2 separate regions of the Homo sapiens genome follow, and region 2 is linked to region 1. Evidence: promoter capture Hi-C in 16 types of primary human blood cells and fetal thymus (Javierre and others, 2016). All regions are on one chromosome and are shown on one strand. The core of a region is centred on a gene start or on the middle of the fragment in contact, and the rest is flanking DNA. Distances in the headings are between cores, read along the strand shown. Region 1 holds the start of GPR148 (G protein-coupled receptor 148). Region 2 has its middle 36 kb from the start of ARHGEF4.

Evidence for each region. The method cuts DNA at HindIII sites, captures the fragments that hold promoters and counts their contacts. A CHiCAGO score of 5 or more calls a contact.
Region 2: a contact is called between a fragment that was not itself captured here and the fragment with the promoter of GPR148 in region 1, in 3 of 17 cell types (total CD8 T cells, total CD4 T cells and non-activated CD4 T cells). The highest score is 7.9, in total CD8 T cells.

The regions. Positions count from the first base shown.
Region 1 is chr2:130,726,137-130,732,012 of GRCh38, forward strand. GPR148 (G protein-coupled receptor 148) reads left to right here and starts at 2,934. Exons shown (of 1, transcript NM_207364.2): 1 at 2,934-4,200. The coding sequence starts at 3,016. The coding sequence ends at 4,059. RefSeq lists enhancers at 656-1,183, 1,505-2,084, 2,085-2,663 and a silencer at 1,567-1,736. The HindIII fragment of the contact is 6,760 bases long and covers 2,132-5,876 here.
Region 2 is chr2:130,798,350-130,804,225 of GRCh38, forward strand. No RefSeq gene overlaps it. Among named protein-coding and RNA genes, the nearest start is that of ARHGEF4, 36 kb to the right of the region's middle. The HindIII fragment of the contact is 204 bases long and covers 2,335-2,538 here.

The DNA of each region.
Region 1 (5,876 bases), core at 1,684-4,183:
ATTACAGGCATGTGCCACCACGCCCAGCTAATTTTTGTATTTTTAGTAGAGACAGGGTTTCTCCATGTTGATCAGGCTGGTTTCAAACTCCTGACCTCAGGTGATCTGCCTGTCTCGGCCTCCCAAAGTGCAAAGTGCTGGGATTACAGGCGTGAGCCACCGCTCCCCGCCAAAAGATGGCTTCTTACTAACACTGAACTCTCTCAAAAGGTGACCTTAGGCAGGGCACTTAACCTCCCTGGGCTTCAGTTTCCCACAGAGCAGCATGTCATTTCTGTGAGTGTGCTCAGTGCCTGCACAGAAGGTGCTCCACGATGAGGCTGTGGGTGGTCACTGTTACCTCATCTCAGCCGGAGGACCCAGGAGCATGTCCATTCTGTGGTTTAAACATGTTTGCATTAGGCACGCCTACAGCCTCAGTTTACCTCCACCTTCCTAGAGGGCAGGGACACTCCAGCATCCCCAGGCTCTTGAAGGGCCACGGATGGCTGAGATTCAACTTCCAAAGTTATGTTCAGATTCACTAGCCTGTGCTGCACACCCACCCCGCGTCTGCACCCAAGGCCAGCAGGCCCGTCCTGACCCATAATGATTACAGGAACGGGGCAAAGGAGTTAAAGGCTGCAGGGTCCTAACCAGGGAGGCCAGCTCTGTGACCCCAGAGCTGGCACTGGGTGACCCCACATCTGGGGTTGATTACAGTGTAGAAACTAAGGGTGGTTCTGAGAAAGCCCATCTTCCCTTTCGGAGAAACCGCGATGCCATAGGGCGGACCCCGCCTCCCTGTCCCCGCGCCCTGGGCTGCACTCCCTAGGGCCCCGGACTGCATTTTCCCAGGAGGGCAGCCTGGATAGGGAACCTCGGCAAGTGAGACCAAACTGATGTTCCCTTAGGGGCAGCACCCGCTCGGTGCTCTGAGATTGTTGTATGGGCTATTTAATTCCTAAGATGATTCTCAGCAGGAGGCAGGCTCTGTATCATCCCAGCGGCTTTTTCACCTTGGGAGTTTCGCGCTTTCCGATTCCATGAAGTTGCTGCTTGTCACCCCGTCACCGGCTATAAGGATTTAGCTCACAACCACATTTTTACTGAGGGATTGTCATTTAACGAGTTTCCCTCTCCCAGGGAATCTGCATTCTAAGACCCCAAAGGCCGGCGAGGGTCGTTGTGCTGGGCTGGACAGCAGAGAGAGGCTCGGCCTTGGCCCTCAGCCCTGCAGCACACAGGGCACCCGCGCAGAGAGCGTGGCCTGCGAATGGCTCTGCTGCCTCTCCCGGCCTGGGGCCGATTAGACCGGTCAGAGCATCTGTAAAGTACAAGGGGCCCCTAGGGAGTGCAGGCCAGGGCAGCTGGGGCAGGGAGGCGGGGTCCGCCCCATGGCATCGCGGTTTCTCTGGAAGGGGTGATGGGCTTTCTCAGAACCACCTTTAGTTTCTGTACCGTAATCGGCCAAAAAGGCGCAGGCGCTGCTGCTCCTGGCAGCTGCGTAACAGGCTCTCAGAGGAGGACGCGGTTCCGGGCTGCGGCGGGCGTGGTCCGGGGCTGTTCTGGGCGTGGTCTTTGGCTGTGATGGGCGTGGCCTTGGGCTATGGAGGGCGTGGTCCCAGGGCTGCGATGATGGTGGTCCGGGGCTGTGGTGGGCGTGGCCCCGGGCTGCGGCGGGCGTGGTCCCCGGGCTGCGGCGGACGTGGTCAGGGGCGGTTCTGGGCGTGGTCCCTGGGCTGCGGTGGACGTGGTCTCGGGCTGTGACGAGCATGGTCCCTGGGCAGCAGTGGACGTGGTCTCACACCCAGAGTCTGAAATTTCTGCCTCTTCCTGGCCCTAAAAATATCCTGCCTGTTCCCACGCGGCTCCTGCCTTCTGGAGCAGTCTGCCAGGCCGGCGGTGGGTGTTGGGCAGGGGTCTCAGGCTGCCAGCAGCCAAGTGCAGCCCGTTCTGCAGTGATGACAGGGATCTGTGGGCAGAGGGGACCGAGCCTCGGAGGATGCTGTAGGTGGGAGAGCTAACATTGACTCAGCATTTACTTCAGGCTATGCACTGTGCTGAGTCCCTTACCTCTGGGCTTCCGCAACGTTTCCCTGAGGTCAGTGTGGTTGGCATTCGTGTTTCACAGATAAGGAAACTGGAACAAAGCTTTTCAAGGCCACGCAGCCAACACCTCGAGAGAGCGGGAGAGCTTGTTCACTTGAACTGGATCCCCAAACACCAACAGCCACCCTGGCCACTGGCTCTGACTGAGCTCACCCCACCCCCGACAAGCCAGGTGCCTGGGGAACCTGCCTTCCATTCCTCCCCACTAGCTCCTATGAGGTCTCTGCCTGCCAGGCCTCCTCCTCCCCAGAGGAAGGGACGTTTCTACCACACAGCGACCCCACAAGTCAGCTGAGATTTTGGGGGCACCGAATACTCACATGGAGCCCTGAGTGGAAGGGGTGTAGGAGTCACACTCACACGCATGCACAGGGTCACCCTGAGCTGGAGACCATACCCAAGGCTCTGTGAGGAAATGTGAGTGCGCCCAGGCCCCTCCAGCCTGGTCCAATTTGCTGAGCCTCTAGCTCGACAGAGGTCAGACCAGGTCTACAGCCCAGCGATCCTAGTTCCAGACAGCTGCTCCTTCCTTTCTAGGAGGGCAGCCCGGAATATAATCCAGTGTGGTGAGAATCCATTGCACACTCCCTGTGAGCCAAGCAGACAGGTTTGGGGGCCACTGAGATAGGGGACACTTCTGGAGGGGTCAGTGACTGCAAAATGGTGGCAGTGGGATGATCTGTTATGTCTACCCACGCACATGCAGCTGCACAGTTGCAGAGATGTGAATGCAGGAAGCCAGGTGTGAGTCTGAATTCACATTGGTTTTTTTATCTTTATTAAGCAGTCATTCCTAAGGCCTGCCCGAGCCTGGCATCTCTACAGAGGAGTGGTGCCATCAGGACCCCTGTGGGGCAGATCAACACTCAAGGCAGGTGCAGAATCAACAACCTGTGACAAAGCCAGCCATCCCTGCCAGGAAGCATGGGGGATGAGCTGGCACCTTGCCCTGTGGGCACTACAGCTTGGCCGGCCCTGATCCAGCTCATCAGCAAGACACCCTGCATGCCCCAAGCAGCCAGCAACACTTCCTTGGGCCTGGGGGACCTCAGGGTGCCCAGCTCCATGCTGTACTGGCTTTTCCTTCCCTCAAGCCTGCTGGCTGCAGCCACACTGGCTGTCAGCCCCCTGCTGCTGGTGACCATCCTGCGGAACCAACGGCTGCGACAGGAGCCCCACTACCTGCTCCCGGCTAACATCCTGCTCTCAGACCTGGCCTACATTCTCCTCCACATGCTCATCTCCTCCAGCAGCCTGGGTGGCTGGGAGCTGGGCCGCATGGCCTGTGGCATTCTCACTGATGCTGTCTTCGCCGCCTGCACCAGCACCATCCTGTCCTTCACCGCCATTGTGCTGCACACCTACCTGGCAGTCATCCATCCACTGCGCTACCTCTCCTTCATGTCCCATGGGGCTGCCTGGAAGGCAGTGGCCCTCATCTGGCTGGTGGCCTGCTGCTTCCCCACATTCCTTATTTGGCTCAGCAAGTGGCAGGATGCCCAGCTGGAGGAGCAAGGAGCTTCATACATCCTACCACCAAGCATGGGCACCCAGCCGGGATGTGGCCTCCTGGTCATTGTTACCTACACCTCCATTCTGTGCGTTCTGTTCCTCTGCACAGCTCTCATTGCCAACTGTTTCTGGAGGATCTATGCAGAGGCCAAGACTTCAGGCATCTGGGGGCAGGGCTATTCCCGGGCCAGGGGCACCCTGCTGATCCACTCAGTGCTGATCACATTGTACGTGAGCACAGGGGTGGTGTTCTCCCTGGACATGGTGCTGACCAGGTACCACCACATTGACTCTGGGACTCACACATGGCTCCTGGCAGCTAACAGTGAGGTACTCATGATGCTTCCCCGTGCCATGCTCACATACCTGTACCTGCTCCGCTACCGGCAGCTGTTGGGCATGGTCCGGGGCCACCTCCCATCCAGGAGGCACCAGGCCATCTTTACCATTTCCTAGAGTTCTTGAGTCCACAGTCTGGCAAGCTGAGGTTAAAAATCATATGTTGAATGCAGCAGTGTCCACTTATGACTAACTTCTTAGAACAGCACAATATAATAGTGGAATTGGGCCTTTCAGAAGACCTCAACTGATGATTTTCACCATTTTGACAGTTTTTAAGTAGAGAAAGCTCTCTTATGACACTGAAATCCTACTTGGAAACGGAAGCAAGTAAAGGCAATCAAGCAGGGCTCTGGTCTAAGTCAAGCCTTGATCTGCGTCCCTCCAATGGCTTGCTGCACACCCTCCCTGGCCACTGTGGATGCATCCTTGCTGACCAACACACAGAAGCCAAAATGTTGCTGACAGTGAGAACCACAGAGGTAAGCAAGCAGAGCTGCTGAGTCCTGGGACCATGAGCTCTATCTGAGCAGCCGCTCAGGATGTGGGAGGGAGGAAAGGAAGCCAACGATCCACAGCAGTGGAGAGTGTCATGGAGATACCACTATAAAGCTGGAGTGTGCAAGGGTTACACTCTCACAATAAAGGTAAATGATAACCTAACCTTACAGAAGGGGTCAGCAAGGGAGTTTGCCTGCCTTGACTTTCGTGCTGTGTAGAAGAAGAAAATTCCTCGAGAATTCTTAAGTAGAAGCCACTCTTCAGACAGTTTTAGAGCTAGGCTTCAAATTATGTTAGTGGTAAAAAGACCTCAGTCTGTGGTTGGTGTGGTTCTCCTGGACGATCTGAGCTTCACCTTAGGCTGCAGAGAATTTCCAGAGTCAAAGAACCTCAAATAATGGAGTTGCACATGGTCAAATCTCACAAAACCACATAGGGAGATAAGGCACCATGAATGAGAGCAAGAAGAAACAAGAAGACAGCAGCGTCATACCACAGCTCCTTGAATTATCAACACTGGGTTAATATAAAAATGTTCAAGATGTTTTAAGACATTAATAATGACATGAAAATATGAGCAGGGATAATACTTTTTTTTAAATAACCAAGAAAATTTGGAAAATATTTAAATAGAACTTCTTGAAACAAAAATATTAGAATTATGAGTTGAATTTAATATGGATTAAAGAGCATGTTAGACACAACTGGAAACAGACTCTGCAAATTGTGAGAGAGGTCCAGATAAATTACCTAAAATGCAGCCCAGAGGGACAAAGAGACAACCATATAAAAGAGAGATTAAGAGACATTGAGGTTGGGATGGAAAAGACTAACATACATTTAATTTGGGAACACAATACAGAAAATGTAGGAGGGGAAATATTTGAAGCGATAACAGCTGAGGATTTTTTCAGATTTGTTTAAAGATATCAAACTTCAGATCCGAGAAATCTAACCAATCATAAATAAGATAAATGACCAATAACCCACGTTGAAGCACATGATGCGAAACTGCAAACAGCTAAATACAAAGACAAGATATTTAAAGCAGGCAGAGATAAAAGACAAAAGAACATCAATTAAACTCACCTTGACTTCTCAAACAATGGAAGAGACCAGCCTGACCAACATGGTGAAACCCCGTCTCTACTAAAAATACAAAAAAAATTAGCCGGGCTTGGTGGCGGGCGCCTGTAGTCCCAGCTACTCCAGAGGCTGAGGCAGGAGAATGGCGTGAACCCGGGAGACGGAGCTTTCAGTGAGCCGCGATCACGCCACTGCACTCCAGCCTGGGCGACAGAGCAAGACTCCGTCTCAAAAAAAAAAAAAAAATAATAATTAGCCAGGCCTGGTGGCATGTGCTGTCAGCTACTTAGGAGGCTGAGGCAGGAGAATCGCTTGAACCCGGGAGGCGGAGGTTGCAGTGAGCCGAG
Region 2 (5,876 bases), core at 1,187-3,686, 72 kb after region 1:
TGCGCCGGCCCTGAGACTTGGAACGATGGTGCAGGCAGGAGGGGTCACCGGTAGGGATGCCACTGGAGGGACTGGGCCGTCCACACGGACCAGCTGACACACTAAGTGCTGGGTACACAGCAGGACAATGGCAAGGGCTGCTCAGACTGCGTTTTTAAAATCGCCTCACCACGAAAGACAGAAAGTAGGGAAGGGTACCTTGCTGTGGCCAAGGCCGCCCTCGCTGAGTCAGCTGGCATTCCCACGACTCCACGAGTCCCCAAAGGGCTTGTCAGAGCCCAGCGGCACCCTCGCCCTGGAAGTGCCCTGCGTCCTCCTCAAGAGCCTTATTTGGGACAGAGATCAGATCAACCGCGCCACCACCCTCCCACCCACCTTCCACATGTGATAGGGTCGCAGGAATGGGGAGCCTCGCAGAGGCGCGGCGGCAGCTCTCGCCTGCCAGTGACAGCCCACCTCCCACTTTAAAACAGGACGTTCCGAGTCCTGGTTCCACATGTTCAAAAGGCCGTGGCATGGGGGAGTGGGCCTACACCTGAGCTTTGGCTGCGAAAACACTCATTTCAAGGATAGCTGCTAGGCGCTGCCTTCCCCCATCCCCCTGCTGTTGGCCCCCATCCAAGCATCTCCAGCCTCTGCCAGGCCCTGCCCCCTTCCCCGCCCTCTATGGCCCTGAAGTGGGAGCCGGCTCAGGGCTGCAGGCTGCCTGCTCAGCGCCGGCACTCGCAGGCCCATCCCTGCTGTGAGCAAACAGACCAGTAGCATCCCTGAGACAGAGATGGACACCACTCCTGGGTAGGAGGGCAGGCTATGGACATCCGTTGCTGGAAAAGCTGGGAAGAGGGCTGGCAGTGGAGACGCTTCAGGTGCACCGTGTGGACAGACAAGGTTGCAAGTGATGCTGGTCCTCAAGGTATCAGGTGTGAGTCATCCCAAAAGGACCCTGCCTAAGAGGGTGGCCTGTCAAGAGGAGCCTTCTGGGGGCACAGCAGGGCCAGGAGTTGAGACATAGGAGGTTGCCCAGAAAGTGTGGGATGCAGCTTAGGCAAAGTGCAGAGGGTGAGCCCCATATCTCCCAAAAGAAGACCACAGATGCCCTAGCCTCTCTCCCCCACGCCCTGTCAGGGCCACCATGAGGGATGACCCTCTGTAGCCACAGGGTTGAAACTGCTGAAAATCAAACACAAGTCCTCACCATGTGACTGGCTGAATTACAGCAAAAGCTGAACTCCCAGCCTCCCAGGATGTCTACTATTAAAGTGAGGGTATTGATTGGGAGAGGATGACAACCTGTAAATTGGGATGGGGGTGTATGGGAATATCCTGATGAAACTGGGAGACATTGAGCTCCTAAATTCTGATGAATTCTCTTTGCCCACGGGAGTTGTCTTCCCATCCACAGCAAAACTAGCCTCCCCATCCCCAGGGGAAGCAGCCTTCACACCCTTCGTGGTGTTGGCCTTGGCCTGAGGAGATTAACCCTGCATTGCTGGAGGAAATGATAAAGACCTCCCCTGAGGCAGTTGTCATGCAAGACAATGCTGAGTTTCCTTAGGACCCACCTGTCTTTACTAGACCTATAACTAGACTCAAGGCCCAGCAGGCCCCCAAAGGTGAGGACATAGCAGGACCCAGGAGGAGGTGTGCCACAATCCAAAAGAACTACTTGAGTTTTCTAATTCATACAGGCAGAAATCCAGTAAATGTGTGGAAATGGATCTTAAGGATCCATTAAACATGCAGGATAATGGTGGAAAGACCATAAAGTCGGATCAGGCCAAATGTATTGATGTGGGCCCACTAAGCAGAGATTCTGCACTGAATGCTGCAGCCCTGGGCGTGTAAAAAAGACCTAATAGTTTAGTTGGTTAGGGGAAACAGATTAAAAGGCGGCCTACAATGAGCAAGTTGGAGGTGCCAGATATCCCTTGTTTTAATGTAGAGGAAGGGAATTGAAGAGATTGGAATTAGAGTAGATTTGCCATTTTAGACATACTTACCCACACTAGTCCAGACACACCTTTCACCAATATTGTAAGAAATGGGTTTGTGAGGGGAGCCCCAGCATCCTTCAAGAGCTGTTTCATTGCTTTTCTCTCTGGGCAGACCTTACAGTGGGAACCACAGTCACTCAATTGGAAAATTAAATGCAATGACAGCAACTGATCTCAGGGTGGGAGGAGCCAAGAGGGGAACTCAACCACCTAAGACAAGGTGGGTGTGACTACCATAATGGACAGAAGAGACAAAGTAACAATCAGAATAGTCTGACTTGTGTGAATATGTGATGTTGGATAGTTGATTATGGCGTTCCTAGAAGTGAAATAGATAGGAAGCTTGTACTGAAGTCAACATTAAAAGGTAGAGACAAATCTCTAAATATAACATTTTATTTGGGATATAAGAATTGCAATTTGGGTCATACACACAGACCAGGTGTTTTTCAGTATGTCCAAAGAACAAAGAGCAGGTTGGGGATTTTATAGAATAGAGGAATGTTGCTCGTGGTCTTGAGAGAAAGTTTATTTGTATTAGTAAAGCTTTGGGACTAGCAAGCTGATTGGTGAACGATAGCAGTGGACACAATGAGCCCTACATTGGCGGCAAGATATTCCACAAGCTATAGACAAAACTGGTCTCAGGTTACAATAGACAGTTTTGGCTGCTGGACTTGCAGAAAATTGCATTTCTGAAGCGATGTTATAAATCCTGAGTGTTTTTCCCTCCTTGGCCCTCAACTCAGATTTAATTGGGTGTGACAAGAATCACACATTTATGATCAACTTTCATACCTATTAAATTCTTAATCTGTATAAGCAGAAAACTTCCAGGTCGAGTTAACAAAAATCTTACTTGAATCATGAAAATAGAACATCATGGTCCATGCAGGGGAAGCACAGTCCCCTCCAGAAAGGATCCTGTATGCTATCAAAAACCTCTACTGTTAATCTTTCTCTCAGCCTTCCCTAGAGAGACCTTTGACCTTTTACCAGGGTCATTGTGTACTAGGAAAAAGAAAATAATCAGACCTCTCAGGCACTCTGGGACACTGGCTCTGAACTGACATTCATTCCAGAAGACCAGAAGCATCCCTGTGGCCCTCCAGGGGCTTACGGAGGTCAGGTGGTCAAGGGAGTTTTAGCTCAGGTCCATCTCACAGTGGGCCCATTGGGTCCCCAGGCTCAGTCTATGCGGTTATTTCCTAAGTTCCAGAATGCATAATTGGAACATACTGTCATGTGTCACTCACCGAACGGTGGGGATACAGTCTGAGAAGTGCATCATTAGGTAATTTAGTCTTTGTACAAGCATCATAGAGCATACTTACACAAATCTAGATGGTATAGCCTCCTCCATACTAGGCTATATAGGATAGCCTATTGCTCCTAGGCTATAAACCTATATAGCAGGTTACTGTACTAAATACTGTAGGCAACTGTAGCACAATGGTATTTGTGTATCTAAACATAGAAAAGGTACAGCAGGCCGGGCGCGGTGGCTCGTGCCTGTAATCCCAGCACTTTGAGAGGCCGAGGCAGGTGGATCACCTGAGATCAGGAGTTCGAGACCAGTCTGGCCAATATGGTGAAATCCTATCTCTACTAAAAATACAAAAATTATCTGGGCGTGGTGGGTGGTGGGTGCCCGTAGTCCCAGCTACTCAGAAGACTGAAGCAGGGGAATCACTTGAACCCAGGAGGTAGAGTTTGCAGTGAGCCAAGATTGCGCCACTGCACTCCAGCCTGGGCGACAGAGTGAGACCCCATCTCAAAAAAAAAGGAAAGAAAAAAGAAAAGGTAGAGCAAAAGTATGGTATTATAATCTTATGGGACCACCATCATATATGCTATCCACCATTGAGCGAAATGTTATGTGATACGTGGCTGTACTTAGTAGCTAGCAGAGTACCATGTTGGTTCCCTGAGGACTCTTCTGATAGGCAAATCCAAATGAAAGCCACTGAAGCTGCCTTTGCCTAAGAAAACCAAAAGCATTGCTGCATTCTAGAGAGACTGCAGAGATTCGGAGATTAGCACCAGCATCAAGGACTTAAAAGATACAGGAGTGGTGATTCCCACCACATCCCCATTCAACCCTCCTATCTGGCCTGTGCTAAAGAGAGATAGATCTCAGACAATGACAGTGGCTTCTTGTAAGCTTAACCAAGTGGTGACTCCTATTGCAATTGTTGTACCAGCTGTGGTTTCACTGCTTCAGCAAATTAACACAGTAAGCAGCTATTGATCTGACAAATGCCTTTTTCTCCATGTCTTTCTGTAAGGTTCACCAGAAGCAGTTTGCTTTCAGCTGGCAAGGCCAGCACTACCCCTCCACTGTCCTACCTCAGAAGTATGTCAACTCTACAACCCTATGTTATAAATTAGATTGCAGGGATCTCAATTTCTTTTCCCTCCTGCAAGATAGCACACTGGTCTATCATGACACTGATGACCTAGTGCTGACTGGACCATAAGTGAGAAATAGCAACTACTCTTAACTTACTGGTGAGATATTTGTGTGTCAGAGGCTGAGAGAGAACTCTAACTGAAATTCAGGGATCTTCTACCTCAGTGAAATTTCTGGGGGTCCAGAAAATGTTGAAAATATCCTTTTTCTCTTTTTTAAAACTATCTGGAGATATGAAATATCCTTTCTAAGGTGAAGAAAGAATACATGATTGCATGTGGCCCCTCTTACAAACTAGAAAAAGACACAATTACTAGCGGGCCTACTTGGATTTTGGAGGCAACATATTCCTCATTTGGGTGTGTTACTACAGCCCATTTATTGAGTGACCTGAAAAGCGGCTAGTTCTGAGTGGGGCCCAGAACAGGAGAAGGCGCTGCAACAGGTCCAAGCTGCTGTGCAGGCTGCTTTGCCACTTGAGCCATGTGACCCAGCAGATCTAGTGGTGCTCAAGGTGGCAGTGGCAGACAGGGATGCTATTTGGAGCCCCCATAGGTGACCCAAAGTGCAAGCTCTTAGAATTTTAAAGCAAAATCCTGCCATCCTCTGTGGATCTTTTTGAGAGACAGCTCTTGGCCTGCTACCGGGCCTTAGCAGACACTAAACACTTAATCATGGGTAAACCAGTCACCATGTGAGCTGAGATGCCCGTTATGAACTGGGTGTTATGTGATCCAACAAGCCATACAGTTGAGCAGGCATAGCAACACTCCATTATCAAGTGGAAGTGGTCTATACATGACTGGGCCTGAGCAGGCTCTGAAGACACAAGCAAGTTACATGAAAAAGTGGCTGAAGTGCACATGGTCCCCCTGCCTGCTGCACTGCCTTTTCTCTCTCAGTCTTCACCTATGGCCTCATGGACGTTCACATGCAAAATAATGAAATCAGGCCCTCTCCTTACACTAGATACAAAAATAACCCAAAATGGATTAAATACCTAAATGCAAAGTATTTACTTTAAGGCTGGGTGCAGTGGCTCACGCCTGTAATCACAGCACTTTGGGAGGCCAAGGTGGGCAGATTACCTGAGGTCAGGAGTTCAAGACCAGCCTGGTCAATATGGTAATACCCCATCTCTACTAAAGATACAAAAATTAGCTGGGCATGGTGGCACAAGCCTGTAGTTCCAGCTACTCAGGAAGCTGAGGCAGAAGAATCACTTGAACCCGGGAGGCAGAGATTGCAGTGAGCCAAGATCGTGCCATTGCATTCCAGCCTGGGCAACAGAGAGAGACTCTCTCTCAAAAAAAAAAAAAAAAAGTATTTACCTTAGAACTATAAAACTCCTAGAAGAAAATATAGGGAAAAATCTTTATGACATTGGATTTGGCAATGATTTCTTAGATATGATACCAAAAGCCCAGGCAACAAAAGAAACAGATAATAAATCAATTGAACTTTATCAA